Regions from separate parts of the Homo sapiens genome. Here regions 1 and 3 are each linked to region 2. The links are contacts of gene promoters, found by promoter capture Hi-C in blood cells and fetal thymus (Javierre and others, 2016). All regions are on one chromosome and are shown on one strand. Each heading gives the region's core, a stretch centred on a gene start or on the middle of the fragment in contact. The rest is flanking DNA. Distances are from core to core; before and after follow the strand shown. Region 1 overlaps TRAF3IP3 (TRAF3 interacting protein 3). Region 2 holds the start of G0S2 (G0/G1 switch 2). Region 3 holds the start of HSD11B1-AS1 (HSD11B1 antisense RNA 1).

Region 1 (4,592 bases), core at 314-2,813, 110 kb before region 2:
TGTAAATAGGTAATGGTGGTGCTAGTAGCAAATTGGTAGATAGTACATACTTGCCATTTCTATACTAGGAAGTCCTCTTAGTGGAGATGTTTTCATTTTCACTGGATAAAAGATAGAAGGAAGGAGATGATAGAGGAAAAGCAGGGTGATGGAAGACAAGCCAAACACTCTTGCATGGTAACCTTGTAAATATACCTGCTCTATGTGGGTGCTGCATGCTAGGAAAGTAGGGCTGGGGGCTTTTCTGCATGTTTATATGCCTCCAACTGAATTTGAGGAGAGTAGACCACCAGTATGCTTAAATATGTGATACTTGTTAATGTAATACACCATTCAGGAATAAACTGAGAGTTCTGAGGAACAATCTGGTCAGGTGAAGTTTATTTACAGTAGGTTAAGAAATTAATAAAAAGTCAGAAATCCTAAGTCAGTTGGAAAACCCAAGCTGTAATGTACCCAAACCTTCTGAGTTTTTCGCTGAGTTGCTTGCTTCTGATTTTCACCCAAGGCAGTTGTCACAAATTATTCAGATCATCAGGTTGTCTTTATTGGCCAGGAACACTGCCAGTGCTGCAGCAATCACCACCATCAGCACTGGGAGCCATCGCCCACATTGCCTCTGTAGGGGGACAGGGAGACAGAAGAAAGTGGCCATGAGTGGATTGGAAAAGATATAGGCAAAAATCTTTCTTCTTCCTACTCTAGCCCAGTGGAAAACGCTGGGTTGGTGGTGGAGAAAAAGCTTTTTACTCTGTCTCCCATTTTGTCACCTGTCTTGGGATAAAACCACTTAACCAATGTTCTCTGGCCCAGGGAGCCGTATCCATCAGGGACCAGATATATAAATACTGATATGAATAATGAAGGGTGGAAAATAACCCAGCAAAATTATATTCTTTCTTTGTATTCCCCAGTACTTTTGTGTCCTTCTGTTCTTGCCACCATGCTTATCATCGGCTAAAAGAACACCCTTTCATACTTTAGCTAAGAGTAAGTCTTTCCTTCTGGCATTGAGAGTTCTGTGAAAGTTGGGCTTTGATGGACGAGCCAGTGTTTTTTTCAATGGTTGCCATAATGTCAGTATAGTATAAACCAAGCACAGTGGGACAGGATGGCCAGTTGTTGGCGTGGGCTGATATATTTTATGTGCAAAACTTGGTTAAAGAAGGAATCGTCCCATCATCCAGGGCTTTATGGGAAGGAGAGACCCTCTTACTCTGGGAGGCAGCTGCTGGCTCTGGTTCAGCTCTTCTCGACAGTGCTGCAGCTTACGCAGGCAGGAGAGATACTCGTCACTGAGGTTGTCTAATTCTGAATGCAGTTCTCTGCACTGGGGAGAACATCACCAAAGTCATCACTGTCACTTCTGTCTAGGACAGAGCCCAGGCAGGGGAGACTGCCCTTTGTAAGTTTCACTCATTTGGAATTTTTACCACCATCTTCCCTTCCCAGCCATTCTCAGGGATTTGAGTTTGTCTTTTGACTGTCTTACATTGTCTGGAATGTGTTCATTTAAATGATTGACAGTAATGCATATTATAGTATTACATTTTATACATTTAAGTTCTTTTATATGACTTTACGTGCAAGTGCTTTGCAAATGAGAGACACCGAAAAATGAAGTTCTTATAGAACAAACGACCTAGAAGTGACCTTAGTACAAGTTTCTTTCCCAGGAGCTAGTTGCATATCAATACTTCTGGGGATGTGTATGTTTGTGAGTATGTACAAAGGAAGAGTTTTACTCTTTAAGAGACATATAAAGACTTAAGATACTCAATGTGGGACGACATATTGAGAAGTTAATATTTTTATTAAATGTGTTTGAGTTTTGGTCGACTTTCTAAAAGGTAATCATTTAATAAAACCTTGAATAGGAGTTGGTATAAATAAGGAAGGGAAAAGATTGACAAGTCAGCCCAAAAGCACAGACACTTTATGTAGGCAAATGAATGTCTGTGGTTATCCACTCACAACTTAAACTTTGAAATCCCTGCTTTTTGACTGCCTCCCAGGTTTCTCTGCTATTTCGCAAATGAGCCCTCACTATCTCAGGTCACCCTCTCACCTCCTTTTCCTTGGCCTGGAGCTGCAAAGTCTTCTTTTGCAGCTGGTCTCTGAGATCCCAGTCTTTCTCCTTCCCTGTACCCTCAGGCTCCACTTCGTTAGGGAAGGACTTTGGACTCCACACGGGCAAAGCCTGATCTAAAAAAGCAGCCAGATTCTTGGTGACAGTGAGGCCCACACCTCTGAGGAAGGGCCCTGAGGGTGAAACCACTAGGAGTGGGGAGAGGGGAGGGAACTTGGGAGGGCGTGCTCTTGGCTAGACTGATGGCATTCTCTGACATAAAGGTTAACTTCCAGTAGGCCCCTGCTAAGCTTGGACAGACAGCTGGAATCTGAGCTCCTTGAGGGCAAGATTGGGATCTTTTCTTTGTATCCCCAGTCTTATCTAGTGCTAGATAGTTTTAGTGAATACTTCTTAATTGAATTTCATTGGTTGTATGTCACATTCTTCCTAGTTTGTCAAATAAGTTTGGTAAATGCTTTAATACAATCCCTTTTCCCTGATGTCCTCATTTGAAAGTTGTGAAGATGGCAGTCATATCCTAAAATTTATCTTCATATGGTTAAAGATGGTTTTTTAGCCACCCTGCAGTCTTAGTCTTGGTGAAAAGAGCATGGACTAGGAGTCAGAAGTTTTGGATTGTTGTTATAGCTGTGTTGTTAGTTTGTGTCACCATAGACTTTCATGTTCTTATCCATACTCTGTGAGCATAAAAATTTCTGCCTTATCTATTATATTATGCCCAATGATTGTGAAGAGAAAACAAAAGGTCGTGTGTAGTGGACAGGTGAGGAGCTATTGCCCCTCTGTATACACAGTGAATTCTCAGGAAACATGGACAGTAGACTCTCTAGGGCTAACAGTGAGTTGACTCTGGACTGCTATGTGGTTTGGGGCTGGGGAGTTGGATGTGATTTGGAAAATCAAGTGTGTAAAAATTGACATGAAATCCTGAGTTCAAAATAAATTTATTGAAATGTTCAACACAGACATGTGCTTTCAGAGAGAATAGAAACCCTTTTTCACAGTTTATATACCTCAAGATAGAAGGCTAACTAGTTGAAGTGTCCTCAGAGCCAATGATCAGTCCTTAAAAAGCTCCCACACATCCCGGACTTAACAGACTCCCAGAACTGGCTGGGACTCCAGGAGGTCATGTAGTCCATCCCGCTGCCTCTAGGCAGGTAAGAGAAGAGCAATATCTTAGAATTTGTGGTAATAAATTTGCTGACCTTTCTTTGTTAAGAGTTTCTCCTGTTCTTGAAGCTGTAAGGATTGATTTTGAAGCAAACCTGTTGGAAAACACAAGGAACTTGTCTATGCTAGCATATTTACTACAAAAAGTTTTCTTTTCAGAACTTTGCTTAGAACCTTGGTTATTAAATATGTTCCCATCTGCTGTGTGTTGAATTTTGTCCCCCAGAATATATATGTTGAAGTCCTAACCCTCAGTACCTTAAATAATGACCTTATTTGGAGATAGATTCTTTAAAAGATAATCAAGTTAAAATGGGGTCATTCAGGTGGGCCCCAATCTAATATCACTGGTGTCCTTATAAGAAGGGGAAATATGGACACAGATATGTTCATGGGAAAGACAATGTGAAGAGACACAGAGAGAAGACGGCCATCTACAAAGCCAAGGAAAGAGCCCTGGGATAGATCTTTCCCTAAACGCCCTCAGAAGGAAACAACCCTGCTGACATCTTGGATTTCTAGTCTCCAGAACTGTGAGACAATACATTTCTGTTCTTCAAGGCACCCAGTCTGTGGTACTTTGCTATGAATATAGCATCCTTATATCTCCCCCTACCATGTCTCTATCTTCAAGTCTTTGCTTGAAGATTTTCCCTTTTCCCTGTGGTTGCTTTGCTCTCTTAATAATCATTGCTGCTTTCATGAAGCTTCTCTATCAGGTGTCAGAGGTTAAAGTGGTGGGCAACCAGCAGCTGTATTAATTGAGTCAGGTTCTCCAGCTTTTCAGAAACTGCTTTTCTTCTGAGAAGTCCCTTTTCCTCTTTGGGCCCAATATGTAGTTTTGAAGTGGATTGAGGCACGTATAGTGTAAGCTTATTTTCTAAACCATCTCTAATGACAGGTCTATGTGACACATTCATGTACATAAATTAGAATATATAAAATAAGAACTGCTTTAGGAAACCCAGTATTTAAAAAAAATCTGCAGTTCTAGGGGAAATGTAAGTGGTGTCATTGGCATGGAAGGAGAACAGTAGAAAAAAAAGAACAGAGGCTAACACATAATTTATGGAGAGCTATGTAAATGACCTCACTTTACAAGAAGAGGGTCTGAAAGTGCACAGAGTTAGAGCATATGCCAAAGACTGGGCCCTTAGTCCCTACTCTGGGTGCCTTTTGTGGGCCAGGACCCCAGGAAAACCCTGTGGACTTTCAGAATCTGGAAAGCGAACTTACCCTGCAACTGCTGTACTCTGGTCACCAGGGTGAGTTTCTCTGCCTCTGACCTTTTTAGTTGATCTGAAAATGCAATAATGCAAGCCAAAAT
Region 2 (4,845 bases), core at 1,760-4,259:
AACATATAGGCATACTTATATATTTAGGGAACTTTATTTTTTTATGTATAGGCAACCTTTCAAAACATAGGCGTTACCCTCTAAATAAAAAATCATGTAATCCCAGTACTTTGGGAGGCTGAGGCAGGCGGATCATGAGGTCAGGAGATTGAGACCATCCTGGCCAACATGGTGAAACCCCATCTCTACCAAAATACAAAAAATTAGCTGGGCATGGTGGTACACGCCTGTAGTCCCAGCTACTCGGGAGGCTGAGGCAGTGGAATCGCTTGAACCCAGGAGGCAGAGGTTGCAGTGAGCCAAGATTGTGCCACTGCACTCCAGCCTGGTGACAGAGCAAGACTCCATCTCAAAAATCAGAGCACACAATTTTACATGTATTTTGACAATGGGCAAAATACCTGTATTTGAAATCATACCTTCCTTGGAGAATTTGAGGTATGTGGTTTCAGAAGATGTGGAGGTAGTGGGTGGGAGGACATTCGGGTTGGAAATTCGGGTTGGAAGAGTAATGTAAATGAAGGTGCAGAAAACCAGAAGGAAACAGGCAAGGACCAGGGTTCATGCTAGGCACCCTGACAAATCAGGCAAGACGGCCAGCTGTGATGGAAGCACATCACAGAGGCACTGAAACCTGGCATAAGAGTTTTAGTCTCAGATGTTTTTGAGTTCAGGAGCAGCAGAATGAAAGATATTAAAGGAAGACAGTCTGACAAGGGATTGTTTAGGGTGAATGTGCTAGAAGGTGCAGGGGGTGGCTTGAGCGGTTGAGAGCCAGACAAGGTGGTAACTGAATGGGTAAAGGAGTAATTAATAAAAGAGGCATTTTGGAAGACCAGCAGGAAGGATAAAATTGAGTCAGTTCCTAGGAAGTTTCTTGGACATTGAAAGTGAGGCTCTGCCTTGGTATAGGGCTGAATTTCCCATTTTGGAAACTGGGAGAGCCATGGTGCCACTGACATTCTTTTCCTTTAAAACTCCAAATATGTTTCTTTTCCTTGATTAATCTTACCACATTCTGATTGCTTTTTTCCTTTGGGAGTGATAAGAATAGATTTCAGAAAGAGATGGCTTTTGATCAGGGCCAGGAACACTTGGTAGGAATTGAGTTGGCAGAAATGAAATGGAGATGTGTGTAGGGCATTGGACGAAGGAGAGAGTCTGAGCAGAGGCAATGGTGTGAGCCAGTGATATGTTTGGCAAAAATGCATAGCTGTTGATGAAAGGAGTAAAGTGTCAGTACCTGATTAGGACAGGTGACATGAAAAATGTGAGGAGACTAGCATCAAGGCCATGCCTCTGGCTCCTGGCTACTTCTTTAAAGTTTAAAATTTGTTTTGCTGAGCCCTATAGAGTCACTGAATTAGCTATTACTACAGATGAAGCTCTGTACACTGGAGGAGGAGGACTCAGATATGTAACAACCGGTTTTTTTCTCTTTCTAGCCCAGAGTTTCTTACTATGATCTGGATTCGTGGGGAGGAAGGCTGGGTAGAGCTAGACTCATCATCTGCTTTGGTGTTCTTGGGAGCTTATCTCTTTTCCTGCCAGGTAGATAGTTTTTCCTTTCTTTCCTTCCCTTCACCTCCAGACCTCCCTCCTTCATTTTCTTTCCTTCTCTCTGTCTGTCTGTCTAAAATATAGTTGGGAAGAAAAAGGTATCAGCCATGGGAACCTCTGGTGCACAGGTGTAAGGAACAAAGAGCTTTTCTGCCTTAGAATTAATCAGTTATCTCCTACTCACTGTAGCTCAGAAGTTGATCTACCTTTTGATGTTAAAATGCTAAATCTCACGGAAGTTATAAAATTTTCTCTCTTCCCACCCCTAACAAGAAGGAAAAACAAGTCCTCAACAGACTTATATGCATGTAGTAACTTATTACACAGTTCCTAGGTGTGAAGCAAGTGTCTGACCCTCAGGAAGCTGCTCCCTCTGCAGTGCTCAGGTAAGAACCCATCACCATCGCCCACCTGCTCACCCTCCCTGCTTCCCACCCCAGGACACCACACCTCTCAGGAATTACATGAGATATGGTATAAAAAGTTTTTTTATTTCAAAATGCAAAATGGTGGTCATTGTAATAATTAATAATAATAACATAAAAAGCATTTATCCTTCCTCCCTAGTGCAAAATGGTAGACGCATTTAGATAATTCACACAGTGTTGGAAATGTCATGACAATGCAGTGCTGCACAGCAGCAAAACTCAATCCCAAACTCCTTTGGTGGATGCTTGTGGTAGGTCAGTTCTAGATGTCAGCGGTTTCTCTGAAGTTAAGTCCAAATAAAAAACAGCACGTGCTCCTGCACTCTCCCAGCGGAGTCAGGCTCCTGTGCGCGCGCCCCCTCTGTCTCTCCATTCCTCTCTCGGTCTGTCTCTGTCTACTGCGTCTCCCTCCCACTCCGCTGGTCTCCCACAGTTCCTAGGAGGCGTGCTGCCGGTTGGACAGGGCCCGGCCGCCGAGGACCGTGTCCTGCTGCTTGCCTTTCTCCTGCAGGGCTTGCTTCTGGAGAGCCTGTCGCTCCAGGGCGGCCTGCAGCTCCGCCACGGCTGCCTCCTGGTCCCGCAGACGTCTGGCGGCCGTGAAGGGGCTGCACACAGTCTCCATCAGGCCGAGCACCACGCCGAAGAGGGCCAGCACGCTGCCCAGCACGTACAGCTTCACCATCTTCCCCTTGCGCTTCTGGGCCATCATCTCCTTGGCCAGGGGGATCAGCTCCTGGACCGTTTCCATCTCGGCTCTGGGCTCTCGGAGGCGGGAATGACCTGCAGGAGGAGCAGCAGGAGAGGGGCTTCAGCCACCAAAGAACGGCTCCCACCACCCCGCACCCAGCTAATCTTGGGGAGGGCTCATAGAAAGGCGGACTACCTTAGTGGCACGGCGCGAGCAGGAGGCAGCGCGAGCTGCAGTTGGCAGCGGTCAGCGCGTCCGTTGGTCCGACCGACCTCAGCGTTCTCCTCCTCTCGGCAGCTGCAGCTCTCCCAGTTGGAGACTCCGCCGCTGGCACCGCTTTAGCGTCCGGGGGCCGCTTATATCTTTTCTCTGAGACACGCCTCCTGGGCTCTCCGGCCCAGGCCAGCGCGGTCAGAGCCAGGGGAACTCGGAGGGGGAGGAAGAAGAGGAGGGGAAAAGGAGGGGGTGGAACCCGGCTGGGACCTGGCAGGAGGTGGCCACGCGCTGAGCACGCTCCGACTGTGTGAGCTAGGGGGCCCGGCGCGGGTGCCATCGCAGCGGGGCGCGTGGGAAGGCCAGTGTGCACGCGAAGGTCCCACTCCAGGCGAGCGCAGGGGAGGACCCGGAGCCCAGGGAGGTGTCCGCGGACATCTCTGACATGGCGGCAACCTTCTTACTGGTGTCAGCGGGTGCACAGCTTCCCTTGTCCAGGACAGCCTGACATTATAAATAATGAGGGAATTTGGGGGTTCCATCTAAAGAAGAAAGCTTTCATTTTTATTCGGAAGGGTTGTCACCTTCCCACGTGTGTGGCAATGGATCAGAGAGGAGAAGGCAAGGGGGAAGGATCTGGGTAACAGGACAGAACAGGTTACGCTTGGATAAAGCAATATGTGCTAATATTGTTTCTTTCCTGCCTGGTTGGTTTTATTTAGAGGTACATGCATGTATAACTAGAGTCAGTTGATAGAAAACTATTCATTGATGGTGCTTTTATGCACAGAGGTGTGTGTGTGTGTGTGTGTGTGTGTGTGAGAGAGAGAGAGAGAGAGAGAGAGAGAGAGAAAGAGAGAGAGATTAGTCTCTTTGCCTGCGAGCTGTTTCCTTATGTACTTCCGTGTATCAGGGAAGAGCCTTCAAATTCAAATTGTTCTCACTTCCACTTGAGAAGTGGAGTTGGGAGCTTGGGGGTAGGGGGTCAAGTATGGAAGGGGCTGTTGGTAGAAGTTCATCTGCCATTTTAGAATGGAAGTATTTCATGCTCTCCTCAATAATTCTCTGCCACCCTCCTGGGTTTGGGGGTACAACTTCACTGCTCCAGCTCAACTTCAGCTTTGAAGCAGTTTGTGGGCAGAAGGGCGTGTAGTAGACAGCTTAGGTAAGAATCCAGAGTGTGAGTACTCTTGGACGTGTGAAGATGTAGGATTGATTTTGACCAGGGTTAGCTGTAATCACCTGGGGCTGAGGGAGCGTTCTAGTTTGGCTTTGGTTATGGATATGCTAGAGTTAGCAAACTTGGGGAAAAAGAGAGGCAAATTGGCCAAAGGGTTAGCAAACTTGGGGAAAAGGAGAGGCAAATTGGCCAAAGGCCTTTAAGCAGAGAAAGGGAGGGGGCAGGGGAAAGAAGGGGAAATCAAACTGGCCAGAAAATTGCAAAGGTCAGTGATGCAATCTTGCAACAGCCTTTGCAGTCGGTCGGACTGAGCCCTGAAGGGCGGGTCGGGGGAAAAGGCTGTCTCAGGGATCAAATATTTTAGTTTTTGAATTGTTAACAGTAATCTTTCTTTGGGGGTCTGAAGCAATTTCTCAGATGATTCAGTTTAAAAAGGCAGCAATAACAACTACCCTTTGCCTTGACTATTAATAGTTCAGGCAAGGGCTTGTGTGTGGAGAATGGTCAAGGTTATCTAAATAGCTTATTTGAAATTCTATGTTTTAGAATTTAGTCTGAGTGAAGGTGACCAGGGGCCAAATAGAATTGATTATTCCTGGAGGACTGTGTTTCCTGCTTATTGTTCTTTTAACCTTGTCAGGCAGGAAAATTCTGTAACAAGGGTTCCTGCCAAGTTTAATATCAGTCTTGGCATTTTCTTTGAATCTTCCTTATAGTTTCAGAGCAACCTCTGATAACTGGCAGAAATGATTAGTGAGCTTTCCCAATATCTGTGA
Region 3 (4,625 bases), core at 1,970-4,469, 66 kb before region 2:
ACCATGAGCCTCACATGGGACAGTTGTGTGTGCCCACACTACGCGTCTGCCAGCCGCATCTCTCTATTTATTTTTAGCTTGTCCTTTTAAGATTTCAATTTCTGCCTATGTTTTATGCTAGCAAATATTATATGCATATATTAAATAAATAGTAACTATATATCTATTAGAAGCACATATGCTTAATCATTTTTTTCCATCTTGGGGATCTTTTGAATTCCCCAAGTGTAATCATGTTTTAATAATGAAGTATGCGATCAAAAGCTTTGGAGAACCCTCCTCTAGAGAGTCTTTGATCCAGTCATCCTTTGAAGTTTGCCGTGGACTGTGCTCTGGGGTGGGTTTCACATGCTGGCCCAGAGTGGTCCAGCCAAGGAGAAAGGTCCTGTCAGTGTGGAGAATAGTAGCACAGCAGCTCTTGAGAGGGACTTGTTGGTGAGGGGGGACTTAACTATCCTTGAGAAGGAGATGTCTGGAAGAGCAACTTGGATGTCTGTCCCCTGTGCCAATGTGTGCTCCTCCTCTGAGGTTACCTCCTCAGGGCTCCCTCCTACTGATATCTAGGCCTTTTCATGACATTCTTTACTGAAGAGAGGGAATCACAATTTGTCAAAGGGAAATTTGCAGATGTGGGAGGCCTAGGATTTCCTCCAGCATAGGTAGAACTGTGGTGTCCAAGTAGTACCTTGCAAATGGTCAGTGTGAGTGGATGCTGTCAGCATGCTTAGGAGGCTGATGTCTTCAGACCTGTGTCCTTCTGCTCTGACTGTATCTCCCTGCTTCTCTGGTGATTTATACTTATGACAAACACTATTGGTTGCTGAATAGAACCACAGTTTTGTTTGGCGTGGCAATGTGCCCAGTTGAAAGCTCCATTTCTCAGCCTCCCCTGAAGGGAACAGTGGCCACATGCCATGGCTGTGGGCCGTGAGATGTAAGCTGAAGTCTTTGGATGGGGCCTCCCAGTGTGCTCATTATCAGGGGTCAGAGTCAGCTGGTGTGCATCCTGTACCCTTCACCTTCCTCCTTCTCTTGCCAGAAACACTGAGTGATGCTGAGGGTGGGGCCACTGTCTTGTGAACATCCAGCAACAAGGAGGAGGATGGAGAGCTGAGTGGAAAGACAGAAGGAGCCCAGGTCCCCGAAGGCCCTAGTCAGCTCCACCCAGACTTTTTGTTAGGAGAGGAAAATAAGTCTCTGCCTGATTCAGCCAGCCACTGTCAGACAGTTGGATTTTCTGTTACTCCCAGGGGAATGCAGTGCTAACAAACTTGAAAGTCATGACTGCAGGTCTCACTGACACCTTGGTCAAGGCTGTTGACTTCATGCAGGATGCTGATGCCCTTAGAATGGAAGAGTGTGAGCATCCCATGTCTTCAGGAGCCCTTGCTGCCTCTCCTTCCCTGGCAATTGTATTATAGAATGTAGATATCTTGTCACTGCTAGTCAGCTTGGCCACGCTTGCTGACAGAAAAAAAAAACAACAAAAAACAGAAAACGCCAATTTGACTCATGTTATCAGAGTTTGATTTCAAGTCCTGGAGGAGGAGAGAGTGAACTGTCTCCTTAAGAATAACGAATTCTGTCAGGAATGTGGAAAGTGAAAGTCATGATGATGTGCTGGAGCCAGTACACAGGCTTGAGAGAGCCGGGGGTGTCCATCTCTTCCCAATCCACATGCCGTGATGTCCTGTTGGTGACTCGAAGTTGGCCACAGTAAGAGTCTTTACATCATAGATACAGGCAAATGCTACAAATCAGCGAATTAAGGCTTTGTTTCTTCTTTTTCTGGAGAGTTAGTTGTTAAACATTTGTCAGCACAGCCCTGGAAAAGACCAAAGTTTTCGTTTAATATTAACTCATAGATACTGGCTATTAGTTTTCATATCTTCTGCTCCCCTAATGCTATGGAGGGGTGAATAAGCCCAAAATTAGCAGAATCAGAGAAAGGCTGCTTTATCCTGAACACGGGCTGAAACCTTACAATATCTTTGGGCCTAAGAAGAACTCTTACATGTTCAGACTAAAGGCAAAAACTAATTTTAACTTGACTTTGGCTATCAATTTGTCACCTGACCATGTTTCTGTCTCTGTACTCATTTCCTCACCTCCTAATCAGCCCTCCCACTCCTGTCCTCTTGACAATCTGCAGGGCCTTGGCTCCTGCAAACCTGCCTTCTTCCTGTGTTTATGTGACCCTCAGAAGCTCCTGATTCTGGGTCTGGTACAACAGTTTATCACTTGCATCTAGATACCTCATGATCTTCTCTGGCCCACACGTATGTGCCAGGTGCTCCTCTAGGTGCTGGGGGCACACTGAACTAAACAGAAAAAACTCCTGTCCTCATGAAACCAACATTCTAGCAGGGGGAATGTGGCAGATGGTACTTTCTAAAGATGGCTGCAGCAATTTTTAGCCCATCCATCCCACATGCTCTTCTTACAATGTGACAATGACAGTCCTCCATCAACAGGTGGGGTCTGTATTCCTTTTCCTTGAAATGAGGTGCATCTTCAGAAGTGCTTCGACCAAAAGTGTATGGTCAGTCCTGAAAGGCAATATAGCTTCTGCCTGGCTCTTTCTCTTGGGACACTTGCCTTTGGAGATCTCAAGTCCTCCAAGCAGTCTGGCAACCCTAAAGCTGCCATTCCAAGTGACCATGTGGAGAGATCACACAAAGATGAGAGAGACTCCTGCTGTGCCCTCCCTGCTTAGCTCCAGGTGCCCAAGGAGCCAGGCACCTAAAGTGCCCTACCTGTTTCAGAGTCCAGCTGTTCATGTCTTCCCAGGGCAGGCACAATCACGCTTTTAGGTGATTCTAGTTCCTGACCTTTGAGCCACCCAATCTTGCTGAGTGGAGCAGAAATTAACTATCCCTGCTGAGCCTGCTCAGACTACAGATTTGCAAGCGAAGCGAATGTCATTTTATGTTTTAAGCCACTGAGTTTTGGGATGATTTGTTATGTCACCATAGTAACTGGGACAAGGACAGATAATAAACAAGATAAATGACCAACAATATAGATAATAATAAGTACTAAGGAGAAAAAACAAGCAGGGAAGGCAGACATAAAATTTCAGGGCAGGCCTGGCATGGTGGCTCATCCTTGTAATCCCGGCTCTTTGGGAGGCCAAGGCGGGTAGATATCTTGAGTTTACGAGTTTGAGAACAATCTGGGCAACATGGCAAAACCCCGTCTCTACAAAAAATACAAAAATTAGCCAGGCATGGTGGCACATGCCTGTGGTCCCATCTCTCTGGAGGCTGAGGTGGGAGGATTGCTTGAGCTCGGGAGGTAGAGGTTAGAGTGAACTGTGTCATGCCTTGGCACTCCAGCCTGGGTGACAGAGAGAGACCCTGTCTCAAAAAAACAAAACAAAAAGAACATTTCAGGGTGGGTTTGAAATTTTATTTAGGGTGGCTAAGGAATGCTTCATTGAAAAGGCAACCTAAAAATTTTTTTTTTAATTTCCATAGGTTATTGGGGAACAGGTGGTGTTTGGTTTCATGAGTCAGTTCTTTAGTGGTGATTTGTGAGATTTTGGTGCACCCATCACCTGAGCAGTATACACTGAACCCAGTTTGTAGTATTTTATCCTTCACCCCCTTCCCACCCTATTCCCCTGAGCCCCCAAAGTCTGTTGTGTCATTCTAATGCCTTTGTATCCTCATAGGTTACCTCCCACTTAGGAGAGAACATACGATGTTTGGTTTTCCATTCCTGAGTTACTTCCCTTAGAATAATAGTCTCCAATCTCATCCAAGTTGCTGTGAATGCCATTAATTCATTCCTTTTGAAGGATGAGTAGTATTCCATTGTGTGTGTGTGTGTGTGTGTGTGTGTGTGTGTATATATATATCACAGTTTCTTTATCCACTCGTTGACTGATGGGCATTTGGGTTGGTTCCACATTCCTGCAATTGTGAGTTGTGTTGCTATAAACATGCATGTGCAGATATCATTTCTGTATAACGACTTATTTTCCTCTGGGTAGACACCTAGTAGTGGAATTGCTGGATCAAATGGTAGTTCTACTTTTAGTTCTTTAAGGAATCTCCGCACTGTTTTCCATAGTGATTGCACTAGCCTACATTCCCACCAGCAGTGTAGAAGTGTTCCCTCTTCACCGCATCCATGCCAATGTCTATTATTTTTTGATTTTTTTGATTATTTCTTCAGGAGTAAGGTGGTATCACATTGTGATTTTGATTTGCATTTCCCTGATCATTAGATATGTTGAGGATTTTTTCTTTTTCTTTTTCTTTTTTTTGAGACAGAGTCTCATTCTCTTGCCCAGGCTGGAGTGCAGTGGTGTGATCTCGGCTCACTGCAACCTCCACCCCCCAGGTTCAAGTGATTCTCCTGCCTCAGCCCACTGAGTAGCTGGGATTACAGATGCTGCCACCATGCCTGGCTAATTCTTGTATTTTTGGTAGAGATGGGGTTTCACCGTGTTGGCCAGGCTGGTCTTGAACTCCTGACCTCAGGTGATCTACCCAACTCAGCCTCCCGAAGTGCTGGGATTACAGGCATGAGCCACCATGCCTGGCTGATGTTGAGCATTTTATTCACATGTTTGTTGGCCATTTGTATATCTTCTTTTGAGAATTGTCTATTCATGT

The links. Contacts are between HindIII fragments. The CHiCAGO score rates a contact against its expected background, and 5 or more counts as called.
Region 1: a contact is called between a fragment that was not itself captured here and the fragment with the promoter of G0S2 in region 2, in 2 of 17 cell types (neutrophils and monocytes). The highest score is 8.8, in neutrophils.
Region 3: a fragment that was not itself captured here is called in contact with the fragment with the promoter of G0S2 in region 2 in 2 of 17 cell types (neutrophils and monocytes); the score reaches 11.0 in neutrophils.

What each region holds. Positions count from the first base shown.
Region 1 is chr1:209,778,083-209,782,674 of GRCh38, reverse strand. TRAF3IP3 (TRAF3 interacting protein 3) reads right to left here. Exons shown (of 17, transcript NM_025228.4): 13 at 4,502-4,564; 14 at 3,301-3,360; 15 at 2,069-2,205; 16 at 1,217-1,330; 17 at 365-619. The coding sequence ends at 527. C1orf74 (chromosome 1 open reading frame 74) reads left to right here. Exons shown (of 2, transcript NM_152485.4): 2 at 1-3,467. Among named protein-coding and RNA genes, the nearest start is that of C1orf74, 4.2 kb to the left of the region's middle. The HindIII fragment of the contact is 1,637 bases long and covers 745-2,381 here.
Region 2 is chr1:209,673,576-209,678,420 of GRCh38, reverse strand. G0S2 (G0/G1 switch 2) reads right to left here and starts at 3,009. Exons shown (of 2, transcript NM_015714.4): 1 at 2,872-3,009; 2 at 2,031-2,768. The coding sequence starts at 2,736. The coding sequence ends at 2,425. The region is part of intron 1 of HSD11B1-AS1 (HSD11B1 antisense RNA 1); the gene reads left to right. RefSeq lists an enhancer at 2,049-2,897. The HindIII fragment of the contact is 4,554 bases long and covers 1-3,446 here.
Region 3 is chr1:209,739,588-209,744,212 of GRCh38, reverse strand. HSD11B1-AS1 (HSD11B1 antisense RNA 1) reads left to right here and starts at 1,651. Exons shown (of 3, transcript NR_134510.1): 1 at 1,651-1,716. The HindIII fragment of the contact is 5,906 bases long and covers 267-4,625 here.